Linked DNA regions of Homo sapiens: region 1 is linked to region 2. The links are contacts of gene promoters, found by promoter capture Hi-C in human tissues and cell types (Jung and others, 2019). All regions are on one chromosome and are shown on one strand. Each heading gives the region's core, a stretch centred on a gene start or on the middle of the fragment in contact. The rest is flanking DNA. Distances are from core to core; before and after follow the strand shown. Region 1 has its middle 38 kb from the start of PAPSS2. Region 2 holds the start of LIPM (lipase family member M).

The links. Contacts are between HindIII fragments. The study calls those that stand out against the background at their distance.
Region 1: a contact is called between a fragment that was not itself captured here and the fragment with the promoter of LIPM in region 2, in 1 of the 25 tissues and cell types used here (mesenchymal stem cells).

The regions. Positions count from the first base shown.
Region 1 is chr10:87,618,407-87,625,528 of GRCh38, forward strand. No RefSeq gene overlaps it. Among named protein-coding and RNA genes, the nearest start is that of PAPSS2, 38 kb to the right of the region's middle. RefSeq lists enhancers at 4,032-4,131, 4,172-4,221. The HindIII fragment of the contact is 3,557 bases long and covers 3,417-6,973 here.
Region 2 is chr10:88,796,503-88,803,979 of GRCh38, forward strand. It overlaps LIPM (lipase family member M), which reads left to right and starts at 6,228. Exons shown (of 9, transcript NM_001128215.1): 1 at 6,228-6,541. The coding sequence starts at 6,395. The HindIII fragment of the contact is 4,906 bases long and covers 2,005-6,910 here.

The DNA of each region.
Region 1 (7,122 bases), core at 3,945-6,444, 1.2 Mb before region 2:
TCAGACTTGCCAGTCCCACGATTGATGGGGCAACTCCTTAATATAAATATCTCCCTCTCCTCTCTCTCTCTCTATAGTATAGTATATGTATATATGTGAAATATACACTCACACCCCATTGGTTCTGTGTCTCTGGAGAAGTCTGATTAATACAGTACCTAGCCTTTCTCTCTTCCTACTCTTTGGTTTCCTGCCAGTGCCTGCCAAATGCAACCAACCAAGCTGCAGGGAAGGGAGCCTACAGATCCTGGCTGTGCAGGTCAGCCTCCCGGGGCGCAGAGCAGAGGGGAGAGGATGAACAGCTGATCTGGAGGATCAACTCAAGATTGTCAAGCACCAGCGGTTACTCTCCCACCAAGAAGCATTTTCCCTGCCTAACTCCCACCGTGTTACTACTGCCTTAAGACATTTCGCAAGCTCCCTTTCAGGGGTGGAGATGTCCCACACAGCCACGTCTTTTGTGACCTCAGCCCTTCCTTTCTGCCCAGCCTTCCCTCCCGCCTCTCCCTCACCTCCCACTTTGTGTTTCTGAGGTAATTCCCTGAAGCACTTGTGATTTCCCACACTGGGCAGGTTTTTTTCCCGGCTGCTGTGCCTCTGTACACAGGCTCCATCTGCCATGCTGCCCTTTGCCCCTGTCCATTTGCAGAGTCTTGTTTACCCTTCCAAATCCAGCTCATGGGGCATATGCTTTGTGAAGTGTCTTCTGTTTGCTCAGGCCCAGAATACCCCCAGTTTTCCCTGTTGCCTCTGTATGATTCTATTATTGTGTGGATTATACAGAATTCAGTGATTCATACAGAGGTCCATCCTTCCCACTGCACTGTGAGCACCATGAGGACAGACATAGAGTGTGATCTGTCTCTATCTCAGCATCCAGCTCAAAGCCTAAACCAGGCACCCAGGCACCTGCCAAAGAGGTTCTCACAGCCAGGCATGGTGGCTCATGCCTATAATCCCCACGCTTTGGGAGGGCAAGGTAAGAGGATCGCTTGAGACCAGGAGTTCGAGACCAGTCTGGGTAACATAGTGAGACCCCATGTCTAAAAAAATTGTTTTTTAATTAGCCAGGTTCCCACTTGAGTCCAGGAGTTGGGGCAGCAGTGAACCCTGATCATGTCACTGCACTCCATCCTGGGCAACAGAGTAAAGATCCTGTCTCAAAAAAAAAAAAAAAAAAAAAAAAAAAAAAAAGAAAGAAAGAAAGAAAGAAAAAGAAAAGGAAGAAAAGAAAAGAAAGAGGTTCTCAGGCTTCTCATTGGGATGCCGATGTGCTGCTCTTCTCAGGAGAGTTTCAAATGGCAACTTCAGCTTTCTAAAACCCCTACGTTCTGAATATACCTGTGTTTCTGCACAGCATACGTTTTGAAACAGCCTAGGAAATATATTGGAGATTTATGTATTGGCAAGTATCTGATGTCAACCTCACTCATACCAGCTACCCACAGTGTGTACAGAAACACCCTGAGCAACATTCTTCGGCTGCTTCGGGCGGAGTGAAGTGCATAAAAAGCAAGTCAACAGTTGGACAAGGCTCTCTTGGTTCCTCTTGTCCTGAGGTCTCAGCAACAAGTCAAGCTGTTATAAAGCCCTTTTCAAAATTGTTTTGTCAGTTGCACACTAGAGATTCATTTCATGGAGTTCTGTTAAAGTATCTGACACACAGATTTGTATGTGTACTGGGGGAGTGTGAGGGGAAAATATAACAGGTTTCTTTAGCCCAATTTTTTTTTAATACAACCCTTTTTCATGTTCCCCTGAAACAAACTACAATGGCCAATTTCAAATCAGTTTCCAGACTCTCTAACCATAACATGGAATTTCACACTGCCAGTAAATGCTGAAAGGCTGTATTTCAAGCTGAAGTTCATTGCAAACAACACCCCACCCACTAAGAATGAGCTTCTTTTTAAAAAATTTTAAGCCACCAGAATGAGTCTTTGACTGTTTAGGAAGGTTGGGATCAAAAACAGAATGGCCAATATAATAACGTAATGGAGAATAATTCAATTAAATGCAATCTTGCTGGATTAGTAAATTTTGTGTCATTTCACCTGTGTTTAATTCCTGAAAAATACAATTCCACAAGCATTTATTTGGCGATGTGTTTGCGCGAGGCACAGAGCTGGTTGATCAGAGGAAGCTCGGTGAGATCCATCCCTGCTCTCAAGGAGCCTGCTGTGTACAATGCCACCGCCTCTGCAAACTTACCAAGCTTATCCCAGCAAATTTCTCCTTCCCTTGGCTTATGTTATAGTGGACCATGAGGTGCCCAAAGCCCCTCTGGAATTTGCAGTTCCAAGAACAAATAGTTATTTCCTTTTTTGCTTAAGTCAATTTAGTAATTGTCATTCAAAACCAGATGAACGCCTTGAAGAATAGCAGAATTTCAACAGGTAGAGATGGGGGAGAATATCATTGTAGAAAATGGAAACAGTGTGGATCAAGGTAGAGTGGATCTCGTGCAGGGTCCCCTTGGTGAACAGTGGCCATGTCCGCAACACTGGGTGCATTGGGACAGGTAAATGGAGAGGAGATAGGGTTCAAAATACAGCTTGTGAGTCATATGCTAAGAGACTTGGCTGTCTCCTTAAAGAATTGTGGGGAGAAGGCAGAGAGCGATGTAAGGGTTTGGGCAAGGATGTGCATGGCTTGATTCATGCTTGGGGTCAGTGGCTCTGGGGACAGGCAGTGTAATGGATGGATTTAAAGTAAGAGCGAGTGAAGGCACAGAGTTCTCTTGGTGTTTATAACTTTTCTTCTTAATACCTTACTCTTTAGATTTTATGATATGTTACAGATGTACAAGTTGTGTATTCATGCCTTGCTTCCTCTCTCAGGAGATAGGCTTTCTGGCTCAGTGAAATTATTCCCTCTCCTGTCTGCATTAGGAAGGTAGCCCCTACAATTATAATGCATGTTACTTCTTGTATGCAGCTAACTTGAGTTTTTTGCCCCTTCTAGTAAAGGTTAAGTGTGTGCTGTAAAATCTTGACCTATGTGGCCTAAAATTGCAAAGTGATCTTTTGTCTCAAAATGTGAACTCCTTGATCTAGCAATTCCATTGATGAGAATTTGTCCAAGGGAAATAGGATGGACACAAAGATTTGTCTGTAAAAACATTCATCTCTGAATAAGAATTTTAAAACTTGGAAGCAGCCTATAACAATGGTGTTAAATTTAGGAAGCAGATTACAAAACAAAGTGATTCTATTTTATTTATTTATTTATTTATTTATTTATTTATTTATTTATTTAGAGACAGAGTCTTGCTCTGTTGCTCAGGCTGGAGTGCAGTGGCATGACCACAGTTCACTGCAGCCTCAACCTCCTGGGCTCAATCAGTTCTCCCACCTCAGCCTCCCAAGTAGCTGGGACTACAGGCATATACCACAATGCCCAGCAATTTTTTTTTTTTTTTTTTTTTTTTTTCGTAGAGACAGAGTTTTGCCATGTTGCCTAGGCTGGTCTCAAACTTCTGGGCCCAAACAATCTTTCTGCCTTGGCCTCCCAAAGTGCTGAGATTACAAATGTGAGTTATCATGCCCAGACTGATTCTATTTTTTTTAAAAAAAGAAAATTAATAAAGAATTCACGAAGGAAGAGTCTAAGGATATTGACCAAACTTGTGTGGGTATTTTTATTTCATTCTTTGGCTTTTAAAATATTTTATAAATTTTCTTCAATGAATACATAGAAATGAATATCAAATAAATGAATATTGAAAAAAATTGTTGGTAATCAGGAAAAGATGCCATTTAATTACTTTAATGCAAGAGGGGTAGAGTGCAGTTCAGAACCATTGTTAGTTACGTTCCATCTCTTGGGTAAATCTAGGCTTCAGAGTCTCCTTTCGAATAGGGTGATTACTGCAGATAAACTCAAAGATCCTCTACAACTCTAATGTCTTACCACATTATTATGCCTCTCTGTGTCCTGTAGCACCAGGTATGAACCTCATCATAGCAGCCATCACAAGGTGAGTCATTCTCAGTTATGTGTTTGCTTCTCCAATGGACTGGAGCACCTTGGGGGCAGAAACAGTCTTGTAGCTCTTCTCTTTGACACGAGCATCTGGTTTCGAGTGACAAAAAGGAAATTACTATTCATTCTTGGAACTACCAAGTCCAGAAATAGATCTATTTCAGATGTAGCTGGATCTAGTGTCCAAATGATTCTACCCAGAGTCTGTCTCTCTCAGCTCTATGTTGGTTTCTGTTGGCCTCTGTCAGGCTGCTGGCAGCCTCAAGCTCAAATTCTTACAACTTCTGTCTCCACTGGGGGAGAGAGATTAATCTTCTCAGTAGTTCCACAGAAGTCCCAGGATTGCTTTTCTTTGTGTTCCATGCACAGCACAGTGGCCAGGGGCTTAGCATATGCCAGATACGCCTCCTGTGGCTGGTAGGAGTCATGCGGGGAGGGATGCAAGGCTGGTCTCTCCTAAAACAGCCACATGCACCAAGAGTAGGACTGGTGGTTTCCCAAAGGACAATCAAGATGCTGTCACCAGAAAAGGGGGAAACGAATTCTGGGCGAGAAAATAACAGTGAAATCTCCACTTGTGCCCCCAGCCCCTTGAACCACGCTGGGCATCAACTGGGTAGGGCCTCAGTGAAGCTTGTAGAATGAGTGAAGGGTCAATGCAAACTGTCACTACCCCCATCCCATAGAGAAACTTAAATCTCACTCGATTCTGATTACCCAGGTACAGCCTGACTTATGATTTCTATGATTATAAATTCTGGCTCCTAGTTTTTCAAATACTTGGCTTAATCTCAGCTACTTACAAAAATTTGAGGTTATTTTTATAAAGTCATTTTTATAAAGCCATTTGCCTCTTCAGCCTTTATACACATTCATTTTCTTAGAGTCAAGTAAGAATTTCTGTTGGATTAATATACACGAACATGACCATTGTAACTCTCAGTTCCAATCCAGGCACTGTCATTAACTGATTTATGCTTTGTCTTTGAAAGACTGTTGAAATATTTCTCTTTATAGTATGTGGGAAATAGTCCAACTCAAATACAGGTTATTTTACTTCATAATTGTAAAACTCTCTTGCCAGAGAAGCAAAGCAAAGAGCAGTAGGGATTCTAGTATTCAACACTCCACTTTAATGCAGGATTTTTCCTAGTGATTAAATTTCTATATTATGATTTTTAAAGATTTAATACAAGCATATGTAAAAAAATTAAATAGTACATAAGAGTATATAATGAACAATAAGTCTTTCTTCTATCCTTGATCCCCTTTCATGGAGGCAACTACTGCCAATCATTTTTTATGTATCTTTCCAGAGATATACAATGCAAACATAAGCATATTTAAAATTTGCAAATATAACATGTACTTATCGCCATAGCTCCTTTTTCTTTTTACATAAATGGTAAGAGCAATGCACCTGTTATGCATTTGTTCTACTGAACATTATATCTCAGAGAGTGTTCCATATTAGAACAAACAGCTCTACCTTGTTCTTTTTAATGACTGCATAGAATTCTAATATAAGGATATACTATAATTTTCCTAACCACTCCTCTACTGATGGATATTTAAGTCGTTGAGTTGAGCACTCCAGCCTGGGCAACAGAGCAAGACTCCATCTCAAAAAAAAAAAAAAAAAAAAAGACATCACTGAGGAACTTACCAAAGTAAAGTAAGAGTAAGACAAAATAAGATTTTAAGAGTAAACAAAAATAAAGACGTCTGGCGTGACAATTGGGATTTGTGCATCAAATGAGAGGCTCAGGGGAAGGCCTAGGCTGACTTCCAGAACAATGACTGTTTAGCCTAAAGCTAAACTTAATTTTCATTTTTAAGTTCAGCCTAAAGTTTTCTTGTGCATAATGAATTGCAATCTAACTGGATGTGTGAACATACTGTAACCTACTCTTGTGCCAGTCCCTGAGTTTTGACCAATCAAAGGCAGCCAAGTGTTCAAACTGTGTTCAAATAGGCAAATGCCAAGTTGTAGCCAATCCAGCTGTTTCTGTACCTCACTTCCATTTTCTATATGTCACTTTCCTTTTTCTGTCCATAAATCTTCAACCATATGGCTGCTGCTGGAGATCCTCTGAACCTGTTTTGTTTTGGGGGCTGCCCAATTCACAAATCACTCTTTGCTTAATTAAACTTTGTTAAATTTAGTTTGTCTAAATTTAGATGGTGTCAAAAGTAGAATTTGAAGTAGAGATTCCAGTGTCTCCCAGGAGCACCAAGGGACCAAGCAGGGACCTGCCGAGCCCCATTGTGTCCATTGCTAAATCACGGCAACCGGGGATCATAAGTTCTCTCTTGGATTCCAGAGCTCCACGGATTTGTGTTTTGAGCTATCTGAGGTTGAGCACATTTTTTATCTGAACTAGATTCAGAAGTCATGACAAAAGCTGGTCTGGGTCAGGCACTGAACTGGATCCAATAATTAACTGACTTGGATCCAGTTAGAGGCCTCGGATGCCTGAGGGGGTCAGGCAGAAACTGGCAGTAGATGGCAAAACTGCAGGGGTGCAAACTTTAGCTTTTGGAAATTTGCAGATATTTTTGTGTTCTACCCCCTTTCTTTTTCTTGCACACTTTAAGTAGGGAGAAATCATTGACTAAGTTGATTAAGAGAATATGAGAACCAAAGCCAAGATTCAAGGTAAAAATGAGATCCTTAATTTCTTCAGAAATTCAGAAATTAAGGAATCTACCTTCCAACTATGCCTACATTTACATGTATGAATATTAGGTCCCAGAAGCAGTAAATGCTATAGAAATGGCAAAATCTTACCAAAGATAATTTAACATTACAATGGAACATTCCAGATGGACAACACTGCACTTTAAGAAATACATTTGATGATGGCCACAAAGAGCTGTTAAAAAACAAAAAATTGAATTTGAAAATGAGGGCTCCCGAATTAGAGTCATCCAATGATGCCTATTAATGTGAAGCTTCTAAAAAGATTTCAATGTTTTTATTGCTTTCAAAGAAAATACTCTTTATAAAAGGCAAATAAAAAGCTTAACCGTTTAATTGATAAGAAGAATTAAATCTGCTAAATGTTTGGCTTGGTTACTATCCTACCCTGAAGGCAAAAAGAAAGCTATCCTGGGTAAAATGTTTATAAAACATTT
Region 2 (7,477 bases), core at 4,978-7,477:
TACAGAAAATACAAAAATTAGCTGGGCATGGTGGCATGTGCCTGTGGTCCCAGATACTTAGGTGGCTGAGGTGGGAGGATTGCTTGAGCCCAGGAGGTTGAGGCTGCAGTGAGCCATGATGGTGCCATTGCACTCCAGATTGGATGACACAATGAAACTGTTTCTTAAAAAAGAAAGAAAGAAAGAAAGAAAAAAAAAAGAAAGAAAATTTAAGCTACCATAACTGTGTTCGTACGACAAATTCCTTTAAGAAGGAAAAGAAAAGGGGAAAGGCATTACAATTCTTTAAGCCCCTGCTATATGCTTGTTCCATGTGGCGTAGATTTACGCATTGATCCTCACAGCACCTTATTTTCACGTTAGATTAACTGAGGCTCGGAGAGGTTAAGTGGCCTGACCAAGATCATTGGCTCAGAAAGGGAAGGAGCCAGGATTCACACTTGAATCAGTCTGGGGGAAATATTATTGCTGCTCTACAGCAGATGTTTTGTAGTTTCATGAGTTGATGGAGAAACTCTGGTTTATCTTATAAACTTCAAGGCAGAACAGCAAGAGGCCATGGTGGAGAAGCAACTGTCCAGTAGCATAACCATTACAACCTGCAGGAAGTAAAATTGCTGAGGTGTGATGGATGCTTATTCTGCACCAGGTCCTGCATTCATACCACACTTAACTCTCACAGCAACCTTAAGAGGGAGGTACCATACTGTTACCATTTTGCAAATGAGGATGCAGGCTCAGCAAAGGTAGAAAAGTTGCCCAAAGTCACATATATAGAAAGTAGTGGAGCTATTGGTCTGACTCCTCATCCTATGTTAATTACTGGATACACAGACTAGGGTAGAAATTATTGGCTACTAGCTGGACTTTGAAAAAAGAACCTTAAAACTGTAAGATGGTAGGTCTTTAAGCAATTCGTAGGCTAATGCCCAGAGTCAGAGATAAGGTTGTTTGCTTACTTTGATATGGAATGGTTTGTAATATTTCAACACTGGAGTATAGTATATGAAGAACAATTACATGTTGATTGATGTAGCTAAGATACCAATTAGAGTCTAAGAGCACATGCAGGCATGTCTGACAAACTGGGAGGGCAAGTAATCCAAACACTCTGAAGACCATTTGCCTGAAGACCTCGGGGTATCTTATGAGATAACTCATATTAAGAGAAGGAGTGGAACATAAGCTTGACTCAGTACAACAGTTTTGGTCATTATTATAGACTGGTTCTCACAAAAGCATTGACTCTGACTTTCAGATTGCTTCCATAGCACAGCCCCACACTAAACGGTGTAGTTTTCAAAACCTGAAAGAATAGTTTTAATAAAACTCAGTAACTCAGTCCAACACTGGGGTAGAACAGCACTATCTTGAAAGCCCTCTAACCTGTAACTCAAACAGAAAACATTCTGCCGCCAGTTTCTTTGCTAAAACATAGCAAGAGTCCAGTTTCCAACAAGTTCCTCATCTCCATCTGAGACCACCTCAGCCTGGATTTCATTGTCCATATCACTATTAGCCTTTTGATCAAAGCCATTCAACAAGTCTCTAGGAAGTTCCAAAATTTCCCACATTTTCCTGTCTTCTGAGCCCTCCAAACTATTCCAACCCCTGCCTGTTACCCGGTTCCAAAGTTGCTTCCACATTTTCAGGTATCTTTTCAGCAGCGCCCCACTCTACTGGTGCCAATTTACTGTATTAGTCCATTTTCACGCTGCTGATAAACACATACCCAAGAATGGGCAATTTACAAAAGACAGAGGTTTACTGGACTTAGAGCTCCCCGTGGCTTGGGAGGCCTCAAAGGCTGTCTTGAATGGCGGCAGACAAGAGAAAAGAGCTTACGCACGGAAACTTCCGTTTTTAAAACCATCAGATCTCATGAGACTTACTCACTATCACGAGAACAGCAGAGGAAAGACCTGCTCCCATGATTCAGTTACCTCCCACCAGGTTCGTCCAATGACACGTGGGAATTGTGGGAGCTACAATGCAAGATGAGATTTGGGTGAGGACACAGCCAAACCATATCAAAGCCCAACGGCTCTGCAGAAGAAATGCAAGAGGACCATGCGTCCCTTGAAAAATTATGAAATTTAGCATGGAGATGCAAATGTACATATTTCTGAGGAGACAGTCTTGTTTTTGTCAGCATCTCAAAACATTATGTAACTTAAAAATGTTTAGAAACAATTGTTGGAATTTTGATTTTTATGTATTCTAAAGCCAAATAAATGTGAGGAAAAGTATATTTCAGTGCATACATATTACCGGGGATACTCACAAACTGTGGGCATAAATTGGGTCACATTAATAGTACATTCTGATTCTTGAATCCTCACTTGAACCAGGATTTGTAGAAGCTCTAATTTTTTTTTTTTACTATTTCATTAATTTTTGAGAGGAATTATTTCTCATGTCCAAATAGAGTTAATCCTTGAGAGTTTGACCTCATATTCAAAAGATGAAGGTAAATGTTATGGTTTTACACCTCATGGTTCAAATGAAATGTAGAAGGGACTTACTTACTAAGCCAATTTGAGGTGCGCTTTACTGGGTACCGTGTATAAAGGGTGGAAGTTTCTGAGGCTGATTTTGACACGTACTCTTTGCTCCCACCTCTTTCCTTCAGGTTAGGGAATGTTTTTGTTTTTACAGCTTCAAGCCTTTTTTTTTTCCTTATTCTTGTGTTATTGTTTTTATTTTGTACCATTTTATTGGTTTGGTTGGTTTTTTAGCTGTTTTGGTTTTTACAGTTTTTACACATGGTATATGAATGTGTAGGGCCACAGGTTGATTTTCATTCACTTTTTTATTAGAAAGCTTTTTCTTAATGTTTATTCTACTTGACCTGTTGCTTTTCTGTATTTTAATATTAATTTATAGATAGTGTACATTAAGGGAGATCAATTTTCTTCATTTTAAGAAATCCAGATACTTCAGATCCTACTTCTTTATGTACTCAGATGACAAAAATCCATTTTCTAAGGTCACAGAGTTCCTGAATAGAAGCGTCTAAAGAGAAATCTCTCAAGATCAGCACCTTGAAGTGGGCAGACACACTGGCACACTTGGACTCCCATCTCTCTCTCTCTCTTTTTTTTTTTTTTTCTGAGATAGAGTTTCACTCTTGTTGCCCAGGCTGGAGTGTAGTGGCAGGACCTTGGCTCATTGCAACCTCCGCCTTCTGGTTTCAAGCGATTCTCCTGCCTCAGCCTCCCAAATAGCTGGGATTACAGGCGACCTCCACCACTCCTGGCTAATTTTTGTATTTTTAGTAGAGACAGGGTTTCACCATGTTGGCCAGGCTGGTCTCAAACTCCTGACCTCATGATCCACCTGCCTCAGCCTCCCAAAGTGCTGGGATTACAGGTGTGAGCCACCACGCCCGGCCCCCTCCCATCTCTTTTATCATGTTTCTGATGCTCTCCATGGGCTGGGGATTGCTAAGGTGGTAAGGGTGTTGTAAAATTCTGCAGTGGGGAAGAACTGCACTTATTTAATATTTGCTCAAAATGTCGCTCTTTGAGCTGACTTGGGAAGTGACTTTGCCTGCTTCCAAAATGACAGTTATGACCTTATAAAGTTCCCCAGGAATTTGAGAGCCAAATTTAATTATATTTTCTCTGCAATGTACTCAGTACCCAAGGCTGCAGCTGCAGAAAGCTAAAAAATAAAAGGAATAAAATAAAAAGGAATGGGTGGGGGATTGAACCAATCAGTTTATTGCCATAAACTCTCTCCTAAAAAAGTCTCTACAGTATTCACAAGCATATTAATCTAATGCGGGAGTTGATCTTACCTGAACATATTACAGCAAAGTAATATGGTATCTGACAGATGGTATTTGACAGATGGTATCTGTCAAACTCATAATGACATCATTGGGAATTATTCTGAATTTTAAATCCAGAAGATAACTTTTTAAAAAGACAGTTCACAGAGATTGATGTAATTGCTTCCTGTTAGTAGGTTAGGCTTCATCTTTGATGGAGAAGAGGACATCGAAGTGTTATATATTTTCCCATGTAGTCATAATGCTAAACAGCAAATTAAAATATCTGAATCTCAGTTCTGGCCTTGCCACAGTCTAGCTAGGCAATGTGGGGCAAGTCATTTAATGTGTCTTCACATTTCTGAAAATGAAAGCTGAATGATATCTTTTTTTCTGGCTATATAACATTTACAAATCCTAAAATGTCAGTGATGGGAGCCCATATTCTTTTCTGAAATCTCATCTTGCCTACCTTGAGGGAGAACTCATGGGGTGCTGAAGACACAGGGCTCTGCAGAGTGTTGGATAAGTGTTTTCTCTGCTCTTCTAATTAGGTCAAATGGCTCCTCTAGCTGGCATCAGATTAGCTGTGTTAGTGACATTCACACTGGTCCAGATAAGGATGCAGACTTACCTCTTCACACCCATGCAACCAGCCCAAAGTGGAGGAGGCTGAGTCATGTGGGAAGATATGTTCTGACAGACTTATCTTTCTGGTTTCAGCATCTGGCTCCTTCACCCACCACATTCCAAAAGTCTGCATATTGGTGTGGCTGCTGTTAGCTCAACCCTGAAGAATTGATGTAATAGAGAAATATTTCACTTTAAGTAATATTTTTTTAACTTTTAACACATTCTTTACTTAAAACGACAAATAAATCAACCCTCCTGACCTGCTCAATCATTAGTATGCTAAGGGATTGTTCACATTTGCCTCACATTCAGTTGAACTGAGACATTTAGTTCATGAAAATAACTAGGCTGCAACCCATTATTTTAAACAATAGCTTTGTAGATTCTGGATATTATCCCTTAAACAACCCCATCAAAAAGTGGGCGAAGGATATGAACAGACACTTCTCAAAAGAAGACACTTATGCAGCCAACAGACACATGAAAAAATGCTCATCATCACTGGCCATCAGAGAAATGCAAATCAAAACCACAATGAGATATCATCTCACACCAGTTAGAATGGGGATCATTAAAAAGTCAGGAAACAACAGGTGCTGGAGAGGATGTGGAGAAATAGGAACACTTACACTGTTGGTGGGACTGTAAACTAGTTCAACCATTGTGGAAGACAGTGTGGCGATTCCTCAGGGATCTAGAACTAGAAATACCATTTGACCCAGCCATCCCATTACTGGGTATATACCCAAAGGAATATAAATCGTGCTGCTATAAAGACACATGCACATGTATGTTTATTGCAGCACTGTTCACAATAGCAAAGACTTGGAACCAACTCAAGTGTCCAACAATGATAGACTGGATTAAGAAAATGTGGCACCTATACACCATGGAATACTATGCAGCCATAAAAAAGGAAGCATTCATGTCCTTTGTAGGGACATGGATGAAGCTGGAAACCATCATTCTCAGCAGACTATCACAAGGACAAAAAGCCAAACACTGCATGTTCTCACTCATAGGTGGGAATTGAACAATGAGAACACTTGGACACAGGAAGGGGAATATCACACACCGGGGTCTGTCGTGGGGTGGGGGAAGTGGGGAGGGATAGCATTAGGAGATATACCTAATGTAAATGACAAGTTAATGGGTGCAGCACACCAACATGGCACTTATATACTTACATAACAAACCTGCACGTTGTGCACATGTACCCTAGAACTTAAAATATAATAAATATATATAAAAAACTAAAATACACAATAGCTGATGATTTATTTACTAGATAATCCATCTAGTCATATCCCAGTGATTAACTAGTGATTACAACTTAAAATAAAAATTTTGTGTATATCTATTTAATTGAACTAGACGAAATGGGCTAAACATGGAAGATTCATTTTCTTCTAATCAATGTTCTCACCCATCCCTAAAAGTAGAAAATGTCCATAAAATTTTAGATATTTTAAATAAAAGCACTTATCACAACACTTATCTTTAACCAAAAAACAGTGATCATTGAAGACCCAGAATATGACTATAGAAACTTTCAGTGCTTTCTGTAGACTCCATCTTTTGCTATCTATCAAAGAAAGATAAAATCTAGGAGTGGAAGGAAAGAGGTTCCCTACACTCCTTATTACCTGGTGATAAAGTACAGGGGTTTTAATAGGCTGTATCAAATGCACAAAATTCCAGGTCACATCAAAGAAAGTTCTACACACCTGGAAGTTGAAGGATTAGGGATTACAAGTTGTGTGAGGGAGGAATGGGAGGAGTCAGATAGTATTGGGACATCCTAGGCAATGTTTCCAGCCTACTTTGTGTTCTTTCCCTACCAACTAAGCTTGCCTAATTTGCTTCAGAATTGGAAGAGGGAATTGCAGCAGGAAAATATGTGAAGAGTTTTTAAACCCACAAATTCTTCTTACTTTAGAATTAGTTGTTACATTGGCAGGAAAAAATAAATGCAGATGTTGGACCATGTTGGAAACCTTGTCAAGACAGTGGATTGTCTCACACAGAATGGAAATGTGGCTTCTGATTCTGGTGGCGTATATGTTCCAGAGAAATGTGAATTCAGTACATATGCCAACTAAAGCTGTGGACCCAGAAGCATTCATGAATATTGTAAGTTGGGATTTCTGGGAAATGAGGTACTTAACATGTTAACGTTTGTATCTGTGTATTATTTACATTATGTATTATATTTATACATGGTGGTGATTCATACTAGAAGAGCATAGTGATGAAGTAGCAAATTGTACTGGAAAGAATGCTAAACTGGATGTCAGTAGACCTGGGGTCTCCTCACACAAATTTAGTAAACTTGGGCAAATGACTTAATCTCTTTGAGCTTCAAACACAATTTAACTTTTCCTTGAACACTTTGGTTCATCCTATGAGTGGAGAAGTAATTAAGGCCTTTTAAGTTCACCCCAGTCCCTTGATTATTTCCATTTTGTCTGTACCTTTTATTCTTTTATTCTTTTTTTCCATATTGCAAAGGTGTCAGCCTTTGCTTCTTGCTATCAGGGCACACACTTCTAGTAGCATCTTATACCATTCTAATCTACTCTTTTTATCCTGTTTCTGGACTGGTACTTTGCTGAATAGCAATAAAAGGACCCCGAGTTAGTGCTACACAGAACCTCCTACAAGTAAAATGCATAAATGACAGTACATCTCTTTAGTTTTCCCAGGAGGTTTTTTTTTTTTTTTTTTTTGGTAGCTTTTCAAATTCTAAGCTGGGTTTTAGTAATGGTCACCCTATGGTAACACTTATCCCATAGCAGGGATTATGACACAAGCAGAGATACTATTCTATTTCAATTTCATTGCCCTGTGCAGTAGATAGGATCATTCACATATTTCAAATCTAGATACTGAGATTAAAGAGGTTAAACAAGTTGAACAAGGCCATACCAATGTAATAGCATAGCTACTATTTAAATTCAGGACTGCCTAAACACAAAGTCTATAATTATAAATACTACGCAATAAACCCTCCCAGGTGAGAAAGAGGAGAGGCTACCTCCAGATGAGTAAGACGATCATGTGCAATGT